4 separate regions of the Homo sapiens genome follow, and regions 1, 2 and 4 are each linked to region 3. The links are contacts of gene promoters, found by promoter capture Hi-C in blood cells and fetal thymus (Javierre and others, 2016). All regions are on one chromosome and are shown on one strand. The core of a region is centred on a gene start or on the middle of the fragment in contact, and the rest is flanking DNA. Distances in the headings are between cores, read along the strand shown. Region 1 overlaps KIFAP3 (kinesin associated protein 3). Region 2 overlaps KIFAP3 (kinesin associated protein 3). Region 3 holds the start of PRRX1 (paired related homeobox 1). Region 4 has its middle 16 kb from the start of SCYL3.

Region 1 (2,700 bases), core at 32-2,531, 590 kb after region 3:
CATATATTCTTTAACAATATTTTTACTTTTATATTTTGTTTTTAACAAGACAGCAGATAGCAGTATATTTTCAGTCCCTTCCTACCTGAGTAATTCCATATTTTGGTTTTACAAAAATAATTTTTTTTGAATCTCTATGTGTTTTGGTGTTTGATTCTTACATGCCCTTCCTTTATCTGGAACTTGCCCTGTTCTTTGCCCCGCTAATTCCTCATCTTTCCTGTTTTGACATAAATACCACTTTTTCCAGAAAGCTTTCCTGAACTTCCCTTTCCCACCTCACAATCCAGGTCAGGTATACCTGTTAGGGTCTCATGATACTTAATACCTTGTTTTTCCCTAAACTTACTACTTTATATTTCCTTCTGGTTTATAAAGTTCATAAAGGTAGGTGCTATGTGTCTATCTTACTTCCCATTGTATTCCCAGCACTCAGCAAGGTGCCTGAAACATAGATTATTAAGTAAAGTCAGAATAAGACTAGAAAGAAATATGAGCCAAATCATATGGGACTTAAGCGCTTTAGTAAAGAGTTGAGACTTTATTTTGAGTGCATTGGTGAACTATTGAAGGATATTAAAAGTGAACAACATTTGTTCATTCATTTAATAGTTGAGATTCTACTGTGTAAAAGTCATTAAGCCAAGTGATAAAACATATTTGGTAAATGAAACATAAATATATTCCCTGCCTTCATGGCATTTACACTCTAGCAAGTAATACAGACTTTAAAATATACTGATATTTATTGTATTTATGAGTGCTATATGAAAAAAGTGTGTGGCTTTTGTGTCAAGCATTTCTCACATGGTATATCAAGGTCCATCTGTGTGGTAGCATGTATCAGTACTTCATTCCTTTATATAGCTGCATAATATTTGCTGTGGTTTGGATATAGTTCGTTTCCACCAAAGCTCATGTTAAAACTTGGTCCCCCATTGTGGCAGTGTTGGGAGCTGGAGCCTGGGAGGTGTTTCAGTTTTGGGGGTGGATCCCTCATGAATGGCTTGGTGCTGTTCTTGCTGGAGTGAGTGAATTCTTGCTCTAGTGAGACTGGATTAGCTCTCTTGGGAATGGATTAGTTCCCTCTAGAGTTGGTTGTTATAAAGCCAGGAAGACCCTTGGGTATTCTCTTTTCTCACTTCCCCTTTGATCTTGTCCACTGTGTTATAATGAAGCACAAAAGCCCTCACTGGAAGCCAGAGTCATGCCCTTGAACTTCCCAGCCTGCGGAACTGTAAGCTAAATAAACCCCTTTTCCTTATAAATTACCTAGTCTCAGGTATTGTGTTATAGCAACATAAAATTGACTAATTCAGTATTCCATTTTATGGATATACCACATTTTGTTTGTTTATTGCTCATCTGGTGGTGGACATTTGGGTTGTTTCTACCTATTGGCTATTGGGAATAAAGCTGCTGTGAACATTACTGTACAAGTTTTTGTTTGAACACTTGTTTTGTATCTTTTGGTGTATACCTAGGCCTGGAATTGCCAGACCATATGGTAATTCTATGTTTAATTCATTGAGGAACCACTAAAGTGTTTTCCCTAGTGACTGCACCATTTTACATTCCCACCAGCAATGTATAAGAATTCAGTTTTCCGTATCCTCACTAACACCTGTTATTTTCTGTTCTGTAATTATTACTATACTAGTGGATATCAAATGGTATCTTATTTTGGTATTGATTTGCCTTTCCCTAATTACTAATGACATTGAGCTTTTCATGTGCTTCTTGGCCATTTGTCTTTATTCTTTGGGAAAAGGAGTTCTTTGTAATAGAACCTTGTCAGATACATGATTTACAGATACTTTGTCCCATTCTGTGGGTTTTCTTTGCACTATCTTGGTATGTAAAACTTTCATATGCAAACATTTTTAATTTTGGTGAAGTCTAATTTATTCTTTTGTTGCTCATGCTTTTGGCATCGTTATTTAAGAAACCACTGCTAAATCCAAGGTCATGAAGGTTTGTCCCTCTGTTTTCTTCTAAGAGTTTTACAGTTTTAGCTTTTACATTTAATATCCTTGATCCATCTCGAGTTAGTTATTGTCTATGGTATATGGCAAGGGTCCATCTTCATTCTTTTATATGTGACTATCTAGTTGTTCTGACATCATTTGTCAGAACAAATGTCAGAAAAGAACAATTGACTGTTCTTTTCCTCCATGAATGGTTTGGGCAATTTTTTTGAAAATTAAATGACCAAAAATGTTGGGGTTTATTCCTGCACTCTCAATTATATTTCATTGATCTATCTGTCCGTGTGCTAGTACCTCACTGTTTTGATTACTGAAGCTTTGTAGTGAGTTTTGAAATCCAGAAGTGTGAGTCCTCCAACTTTGTTGTTCTTTTTCAAGGTTGTTTCAGCTATTTAGGGTTCCTTATATTTCCATTTGAATTTTAGGGTTGGCTTTTTCATTTCTGCAAAAAAAGCTATTGAAACTTTGGGAATATAATGAATCTATAGATCACTTTGGGGAATATTGCCATCTTAACAATATTAAGTCCTTCAGTCCATGAACATGTGATTTCTTTTCATTTAGTTCATATTAATTTCTTTCAGCAACTTTTTGTTTTCAGTATACAGTTGTTCCTTGGTTACGTTTACTCCTGAGTATTTTATTCTTTTTGATGCTATTGGAAATGAAGTTTTCTAAATTTCCTTTTCATATTTTTCAGCTCCAATATGTA
Region 2 (2,707 bases), core at 39-2,538, 680 kb after region 3:
TGGGGGTTGGCCTCTGGTCAGTGGTAAATAAGTGAAGTCAGGTGCCAGAGAGTCTAGACACAGTGATTTCAGTCATGGGTCTTTGGTATCTGATACTCAATATGGGACTTGTCTGATTGAACACTATTGCCTCTTCATCGCACAGACTGAAGCCCTTTTAGTGCTTTTCTGGTAAATTAGTAAAAGATGACAATGGACATAGTTAAAACAGAACAAATCTAGTTTTAATATTTTCTAGTTGTCAGCAATTACACTTACTTTTGAAGTGCCATCATAGCAATCAAATTAAAGACATACTCTTTCATGTGGAGTTTGAACTAAACATTGCTTTTTTAAATTTGAAAGCTTTAATTAAAATTGAAATGTTTATCTCTCTTATTATGAAAAACTAATTCTATATCATTATGCATTCCATTTATATTTAGTCCTAATTTAGCTCGATATGGGGAATGGGAGTTGAGTAAGTTTTCGAGCCATGCATTATTTTCTAAAAATCTAGTTTCTGATTGTTTATTTCTAGGTAGAATTTAATATGGAAATTACTTTAGAGAAAATTTACCTTCTAAAATAATGACCTGTAGCCCTGTGTTTAAGGCTAATTTTCATACTACAAAGGTTGATTTGAAGTAAATACTTTTTGTTAGCAATAAATACTTTGCTTGAAACATTGCTTCAATGTAACCGATTCTCAGATTGAAAAAAATCTATGGTAGGTTTTTAATTACAGTTTAGAAAACATAGCAATTAATTAGAGGATTGTCACCTACATTTTTGGTAATTTGTAATTTAATTTTTATTGGCAATTTTATTTGTAATTTAATTTTTATTGGGCAGATAGGTAGTGAAATCTGTTAAATATATATCCAGTAAATTAAGATTATTTTACTTTTGCCCTTGAATCTTTTTTTATTCTGTGGCATTATTAAGTATTAATGATTCTTACCCAGAGATACTATCAGTGGTAATATTTGTGGTTAAAGATCTGCCCTCAAGGGGAGCATATGATACATGCCAGCCGTTCACCTGCTACAGTGTTTTGTAATTTTCAGCATACAGATCAGTGTATTTGCTTAGAATTATACCTAACAATTTGAGTGGTATTGTGTTTTTTATTTAATTTAATTTAACCAAATTTAATTTTGGTTTTCAGCTGTTCATTGCTAACACATAGAAATGTGATTGATTTTTGTATATTGACCACATATCATTTTTGAAATGCAGAAGTCATCTTGAACTAACAGTAATCAAAACAAGATTTAACAGAAAGAGGTCTAAAATAAATAAATATTTATTATTCGCTGTGTTGGATTCATGAAGGCATGAATCCAACATGTTCTAAAAAGGTATTGCCCTGAGATAAAACATAGTAAGTTTTTATATTATAAATTTTAGGAATAACTTCTATTTGTTGTTAACAATTTGGGCTGAGAAAAAACTCTCTTTATGTACTATACACTAAGTTAATTTGCTGATTTGACAATAATAGAAGACTAGCTTCTCCAAAACATAGCATAAAATTTGTTCATTTGTCCTTTATTATAGCAGCTGTTTCTCACCATGACAAATCTAGATTACTGCTAAATGGCATAGGTAGCCTACCTTTTCCTTCTTACCTTTTTGTCTGTTGTTTTTCAGACCCTCTTTCTTTTTCTCTTATCACTAAAAATGTTTTTTTCTCATTTTATACCCATGCCCAAGTGATTGGATTTAGCCTGCAGCTTCAGTTTTCAACCATATATGCCAGTTCCTAAAATTATACCTCTAGTCCAGACATTTCTTCTAAACTCAGGCCTGTGTTTATGACTTCCTACTGAATACCTGCACTAGACTATCACATAAGCAGCTTAAACTCAACATATCTAAAACCAAAATTACTATCTTTCCTTTAAAGTTTTTTTCTACCCTAGTTTCTCCTTTTCGGTAGATGTTGGCAGCACCATGTATGTCATTTCTCAGTGCATAAATCCAGAAGTCATCTTTGACTCCTCCACTCCTTTAACCATAACATCTAGTCAGTTACTACATTCCATTTTGGTTCTGTTTTCTAAATATATGTCTAATCAATCCTTTTATCTCTACCTAGTTCAGACACCCATCTTCTCACTTGGACTTTTCCTCTAGCATCCTACCTGGTTCCCCATATTTTCTTGCAATTTTATTCTATTTTCTACACTGGGTAAATCTTTTTGAGACACAAATTTTATCCTGACACTTTCCTATTTAGAAGCTTTTAGCAGCTTCCCATTATCCTTCTTAGCACGAAGGCCAAAATCTTTAACATGTACTTCAAGACCCTGCATGATCTGGTTTTTACCTTCTTATCTCTTAAAACTGTTGTTTCCCTTTCACCAACAATGCTTGCTTGCTTTTAATTCTTCAAAGAGTACTGTTTTTTCCTGCATTGTGACCTTTGCATAAGCTATTTTCTTTGCTTGGAATGCTCTGCTTCCAAACAATATGTTTAATTATTTAAGGACAGATGTTTTATCTAATATTTCTCTTATATTCTCCACTGTACTTAGAAGTTTATATTTAATGCTGAGCATCTAAGAGTTCATTAACTGTTTATTCATCCAGTTGTTGAACAGTGAACGCCTGCCAGTTTTATGTGTTGAAATGTAAATAATTATATTATGCCCAATGTACAATCTAAGATAACACATTATGATAAAAATATTGCTTCTGTGTTTGGTTTTTTGTCTTTGTT
Region 3 (2,844 bases), core at 134-2,633:
CCTCATTTGAGAACTTACAGCTAAGTTCAGACTCTTGCAACCTCGAGGAGAAGAGGGAGTATCTGTACATATCTGGCCACATGTCACCTGGGATGAACAGGGTGACCGGTCTGTTACAGACTTGGGGGCATGGGGATACAATTGCAGTCTCTTTTTAAGGCACTAGCGAAGCGAGATTTTCATGGGTCGCGAGGTTGGTCGGTGAGGATGGGGAAGGGAAACTGGACTTTTCTGGGCGTTTAAGAGCCAATAGGGAGAGCTCCTCTAAGGTGACACTGGCCTCCGCACTGAAGCTCGCGCCTCCCGGATGCAGCTCGCCTGTGCGGGATCATGCGGGGCTGGATTTCAGGTTTCACCCTTAAAGGACATTCCCTTTGCTTGGCCCGAGTTTTCCCAAGCCAGCCGGGCTTTTGACTCTGCCAGTCTCAAACCCATTTGCGGTAGAGGCAACAGCAGGGGGCAGAGAGCAGCTCCAGCGTCTGGGGCCGGGCGTTCTCTCGGGGCCTCCCGGTCGCGCCCGGCCTTACGGTGCCCGCGTGGAGAGTGCAGCCTGAGCAGCGCCAAGTCCTGCTCCCTGTGCCTGGTGCCCTCCCTCAAGCCGTCATACGCTGCCCGAGAGAAGCCCTTCCAACCCGACTCAGCATCTTTAACCTGCTGCTTTCCCAAACAGCGCTGGCTCTCTGAGTTTGCACCCCGCTAAGACCTTTTCCCAGCCCAGCCCCGCCGCCCCGCGTGCGGGATGAACCGAGCCGGTGCCTAGCCGAAGTAAAGAGAGTCCGCCGCGGACAGAGTCCCTGCCTGAGACCGCAGGGCCTCGGAGTGTCCCCGGACCTTGGAGCCTCTCTCCAGCGTCCTCCTTGGCTATGCCCTCGGCCGAGACCCGCTTTTCTCATCTGGTTTCCCCTGTGACTGGCCCTTCCTTTGAAGTCTGCCATCACCTCTCCTGGTCCCAGGACCTTGTCTTTCTGGCCGCGGACGGGCTCTAGCTGCCCTACACGGGTCCCCGCCCTCTGTCCCGGGCACACACCCCCGTGGGCATGCGCCCCTCACTCACTGTCCTGCTGCGGGGTGTCGCTGCCGCTGGTGAGTCCCGGCGACTCCAGCAGGCTCCGGCCAGCCTCGCCCACGTTCTCATCCGCCTGTGCCGCCACCATGTCCCCGGCTTCCTCCAGGTCTAGCAGGTGACTGACGGAGAAGTTCTTTTTCGCCTGCAGGGTGTCGAGGTTGCCCGGGCTGTCCAAGCGGCCGCCCAGCGCCGGTTGCCGCTCCAGAACGTGCCCGTAGCTGGAGGTCATGGTCTCCCCCACCGATCCCACCCACCCCCCTCTTCCCGCTCGAATCAACACCAAACGCTGTGGGCGCGAGGGGGGAGAGGAGCCGAGTGGGGAAGAAAGAGGGGGGTAGTGGAGAGAGAGAGAGAGAGAGGGAGGAAGAGGGAGGGAAGGAGAGGAAGGCCAAAAAAAAAAAATTGGAAAAGAGGGTGGGGGACCCCCTTCTGTAGAGCAGAGCGTTGTGCACCAGCCGCCTTCCGCAGCATTGGTTGATTTCCTGAGGCCAAGTCCGGCGCGGTCCAAAGAGATAATCCACAGTAAAATACAATATTAAAAAGTCACCCTATGTTCAAGTCAGGAGAAAAAAATCCCTTCCAACTCTCCAAAAGTGTCCACACGCACAGACTAAAAATAATAACAAGGGGGAGAGAGGAAAGCGGAGGCCAGCAGGGCGGGGGAGTTAGGCAAACAGAAGAAGAGAGAAGAAGGGGTGGGAGAGAAGAATCAAAGTGAATGGTTTTTTTAAAGGTTAAAAAAGTTATTCCCAGGCAAGAGTTCAAGCACCAACAGAAGAAGGCTTGTTCCAGCTTTAAAACATCTTCAAGAAAACGTGTTCCCCCCTCTCTGCACTCCTGTGGATTCTCAGGAGTGACTAAAGTTTCAGGAGGAGAGGGTGATGTCTTGCAGATGTATTAGAGAGCAGGATTCTCACTTTACTTTTTGTAAAGAGTAAAAAAAAAAATTAAGAATTAAAAAAAAAAGGCTTCAAGAGTCCGACGGAGGGTGCTGGTGGGTTCCCCCCTTTCCCCTTCTCTCTCTCCCCCTCTTCTTGCTGGGCTCCTTTTTCCTTCTCAGTTGGATCAAGAAGCTCTCTGGCACTTCAAAAGGCACAAACTGGCATGCAGAGGAGGCTTTGTAGGGAATACAAGAAAATTGGAGACCCCTGGGAGGGCAGATCTCGACTTAATAGGAGCCTGTAATTACGTGGCAAAGCCTTTGTGCTGTGCCTGACGTTTCACAGACCCCCTTTCTCCATCACAATCTCCTTCTTCCTCCTTTCCCTGGGACCAAAAAACAGTCTGATTAAGAAAACCCCCTTTGCCAACATCAGAGTTAGAGAGAAAGGGAGAGGGAGGGAACAAGAGAGAGGGAGGGAGAGAGGGAGGGAGGGAGGGAGGAAGGGAGAGAGAGAGAGAGAGAAAGAGAGAAGAGAAATGAGAGAGGGAAGAGAGCAAGAGAGCCCCTTTGGATTTCTAAAGGTCTAATTATCATTCCCCTGCAATAATATCACGGGGAGAAAAGACAAACTGAAACTCACAGTCACTTCAAACGTGCTGATTATTTTGCTTCGGCATTAACTCCTCCAGATTTGTTTAAGATCCTGTTGGAAAATCTCATTTGCATGTTTTGATAACAGCTGTGGGGAAATTTGGAAAAAATCCACCACCATCACAATCAAATTTTCTTCTCCTTCTGCCTTCCCCCAAACCGCCCCCCCCCAAAAAAAAATTTTCTGCTGTTCTAACAGTTTGGGGCGGAGTACAGGGAGAAAGTAAGCATATTAAGGCTATTT
Region 4 (2,736 bases), core at 39-2,538, 750 kb after region 3:
TAACTACATGGGCAAATATTCCCTAGCTTCCTAGTCTCACAGCCAGAAGCCCCTACCATGAATCATTTCTTGAGGTGAGAGGGGTTGGGGGGCGCAGGCAGGGGCAGGGGTGGAAGAGAAGAATTTCTACTTAAGTATTATCAGGACAAACGTCTGTGTGGCTAATTTTAGCTCTCCAGAAGAAAACTTCATTCTCATGGAAGTCTAGCAAACATTATTTTCAGGAAAACTGATTTATTCTCAAGAAGTGCAAATAATCACATAAGACCACAGAGTTCTGTCCCAGCTCATGTTGGGGATAATTGTCTTTCTCGTGCATTAGTAGAAATAAAATGATGCTTGCTCAAACACCAGCAACTTGTTTCACAAGTTGAGCGGTTCTCAAACATTACCTTAAATGAGAATCACCGGGTGGGCTTGCTGGGCCAGACTGGAATTGTTTGTGATTCAGCAGGTCTGAGATGGGGCTCAAAAACTTGCTTTTTTTTTTTTTGAGACGGAGTTTCACTCTTGTTGCCCAGGCTGGAGTGCAGTGGTATGATCTCAGCTCACTGCAACCTCTGCCTCCCGGGTTCAAGTGATTCTCCTGCCTCAGCCTCCTGAGTAGCTGGGATTACAGGCCCACCACCACCACACCCGGCTAATTTTTGCATTTTTTTAGTAGAGACGGGGTTTCACAATGTTGGCCAGGCTGGTCTGGAACTCCTGTCCTCAGAAGATCCACCCACCTCGGCCTCCCAAAGTGCTGGGATTACAGGCGTGAGCCACTTGCATTTCTAACAAGTTCCCAGGGGCTGCTGCTGGCTCCGGTCAAGGACCACACTTTGAGAACCACTGCGCTAGTTCGCAGTATGGGCCCTGTTGTTTATACTAGTATGCATTTTATGGAATCATCTGGGGAGCTTTAAAAATATATATATCCAACTCAAACCAATTAAATCATCTTTGGGGATGGAACACATGCATCACGTGGTTTAAAAGTTCTGCCAGGTCCCGACGGGCTGCCCGGCCGTGCACCGGGACCGGGTCGGGTGCAGAGAGCCCCTAGTCCTGGGAAATGGGGTGCAGCCGAAAAGGCAGCCACCCCCACGCCCTTCATACAAGGCACGTTCGTAGGGAACCTGGCGCTGAATCACTCAGAGACGACCTGCTTCTGGGTCGGGGTTTGGGGTTTCCTATGTAGCAGAGCAACTCTCTCGCTGAAATGTATTGAAAGTCAGCCCTGGACATATAAAAAATTTTTTTTAATTATTTCAAAAAAAATTCTGCCAGGTGATTTTAATGTGCAACCAGGGTTGAGAATTGCTAGTTCATAGGAAATTAACTGGTAGGTATATCTTCAGTATCTGAAACCAGTAAATACACAGGAATTCCCACATGAAACTTCTTGAAATGGCTGTGTGCTTGTTTATAGTTTAGGTATAGGTTCCTTAGTTATAGGTTCCTGTCCAGGTTATATGGGAGAGCAAGGATGTTGTGAGCATGAAATTCTTGTGCCAGTAGATACTACATCTGTATTATTTGTTCCAGCAGATGTGGCAGATGCTGATGTTATAATGTAACTACAATTACTGTTTGTAGTTCAGGCAACAGGACACAGGGGTTCTGCTTCCACATCAGATACATTGGTTGACCTAAAAGTAGCAACAGCAAAAGCTACCATCCTGAGTACCTACAAGCACACAATATAGTACACACAAAACCAGCTGCCGTAGTGGTAATCACTAATGGCTGTTGAGTTGCACAACTGGTCATAAATATTGTCATCATCCCTAATACAATTAAAAGTATAGTGTATATAGTGTAACAGTGTAGCCAAAATTGTCACCAAAGGGTAAATATAACTTTAGTCCATTATATCTTAGGCCTTTTTTTCTTAGCTTGTTCATCACCAGATGTGAGTCATCTGGTCTCTTAGTTACCTATTTCTGTTTCTGCCTTCACCACTACTTCCTTTTTGTTTTTTTGTTTTTGCTTTTTTTTTTTTTTTTTTTTTGAGATGAAGTCTCCCTCTGTCACCCAAGCTGGAGTGCAGTGGCGCAATCTTGGCTCACTGCAAGCTCCGCCTCCTGGGTTCAAGCGATTCTCCTGCCTCACCCTCCCAAAGTAGCTGGGACTACAGGTGCGTACCACCACACCTAGCTGTACTACTTCCATTTCTTTAATGCAAGTCTCTCTCTGAGTAATCAGGCCTCTAGTCCTGCAAAATAAGTGTTTGACACTAATAGAAGGTATTTATTCTAGCCTAAATAGCTATCCTCTCCTATCAGACAAGCTCATTTCCTCATTGGAGGGAAAACTCCTAGCAATGCTTCTTCTTTGCCTTGGGAATATATCCATTGAGTCCCATCAGCTAGAGGAAGGAGAAGAAAAACTGAATGCAATTAGGGACCCCACAAGCCTTTCTGAAAAGTAATTTTCCTCTTCTGCATCTGGTTGTGTACCATCACTTGATGCAGTATGGAAGTGCCTCAGATTCTCTCCAAGTGGTTGGAGTACCCTCTTTATATTCTTCATTTAATTCCCTAATCTATTGGATTCAGAGATGGAAATAACCCCTATTGTCCCAGTTTTCCTTTTTATAGGCTTGTGGTTCAAGTTAGAGCATCTATTTCATATATTTATAAACCTCTCCCTCATCAAGTTGGTATCTACATACATCAGCAGGGCTTTCTATAGTTACTTTTCCCAAGCTGGGTTTACACTAATTATCGAGGCATTTTGTTTCCATCTATG

The links. Contacts are between HindIII fragments. The CHiCAGO score rates a contact against its expected background, and 5 or more counts as called.
Region 1: a contact is called between a fragment that was not itself captured here and the fragment with the promoter of PRRX1 in region 3, in 1 of 17 cell types (M0 macrophages). The highest score is 5.6, in M0 macrophages.
Region 2: a contact is called between a fragment that was not itself captured here and the fragment with the promoter of PRRX1 in region 3, in 1 of 17 cell types (erythroblasts). The highest score is 7.2, in erythroblasts.
Region 4: a fragment that was not itself captured here is called in contact with the fragment with the promoter of PRRX1 in region 3 in 2 of 17 cell types (M1 macrophages and endothelial precursors); the score reaches 6.9 in M1 macrophages.

Annotation. Positions count from the first base shown.
Region 1 is chr1:170,070,014-170,072,713 of GRCh38, reverse strand. The region is part of intron 1 of KIFAP3 (kinesin associated protein 3); the gene reads left to right. Among named protein-coding and RNA genes, the nearest start is that of KIFAP3, 3.3 kb to the left of the region's middle. The HindIII fragment of the contact is 2,050 bases long and covers 257-2,306 here.
Region 2 is chr1:169,984,725-169,987,431 of GRCh38, reverse strand. The region is part of intron 11 of KIFAP3 (kinesin associated protein 3); the gene reads left to right. Among named protein-coding and RNA genes, the nearest start is that of KIFAP3, 89 kb to the left of the region's middle. The HindIII fragment of the contact is 1,882 bases long and covers 348-2,229 here.
Region 3 is chr1:170,662,670-170,665,513 of GRCh38, reverse strand. PRRX1 (paired related homeobox 1) reads right to left here and starts at 1,383. Exons shown (of 4, transcript NM_022716.4): 1 at 1,055-1,383. The coding sequence starts at 1,295. RefSeq lists enhancers at 1-750, 1,951-2,478. The HindIII fragment of the contact is 9,244 bases long and covers 1-2,844 here.
Region 4 is chr1:169,908,046-169,910,781 of GRCh38, reverse strand. No RefSeq gene overlaps it. Among named protein-coding and RNA genes, the nearest start is that of SCYL3, 16 kb to the right of the region's middle. The HindIII fragment of the contact is 3,795 bases long and covers 1-2,736 here.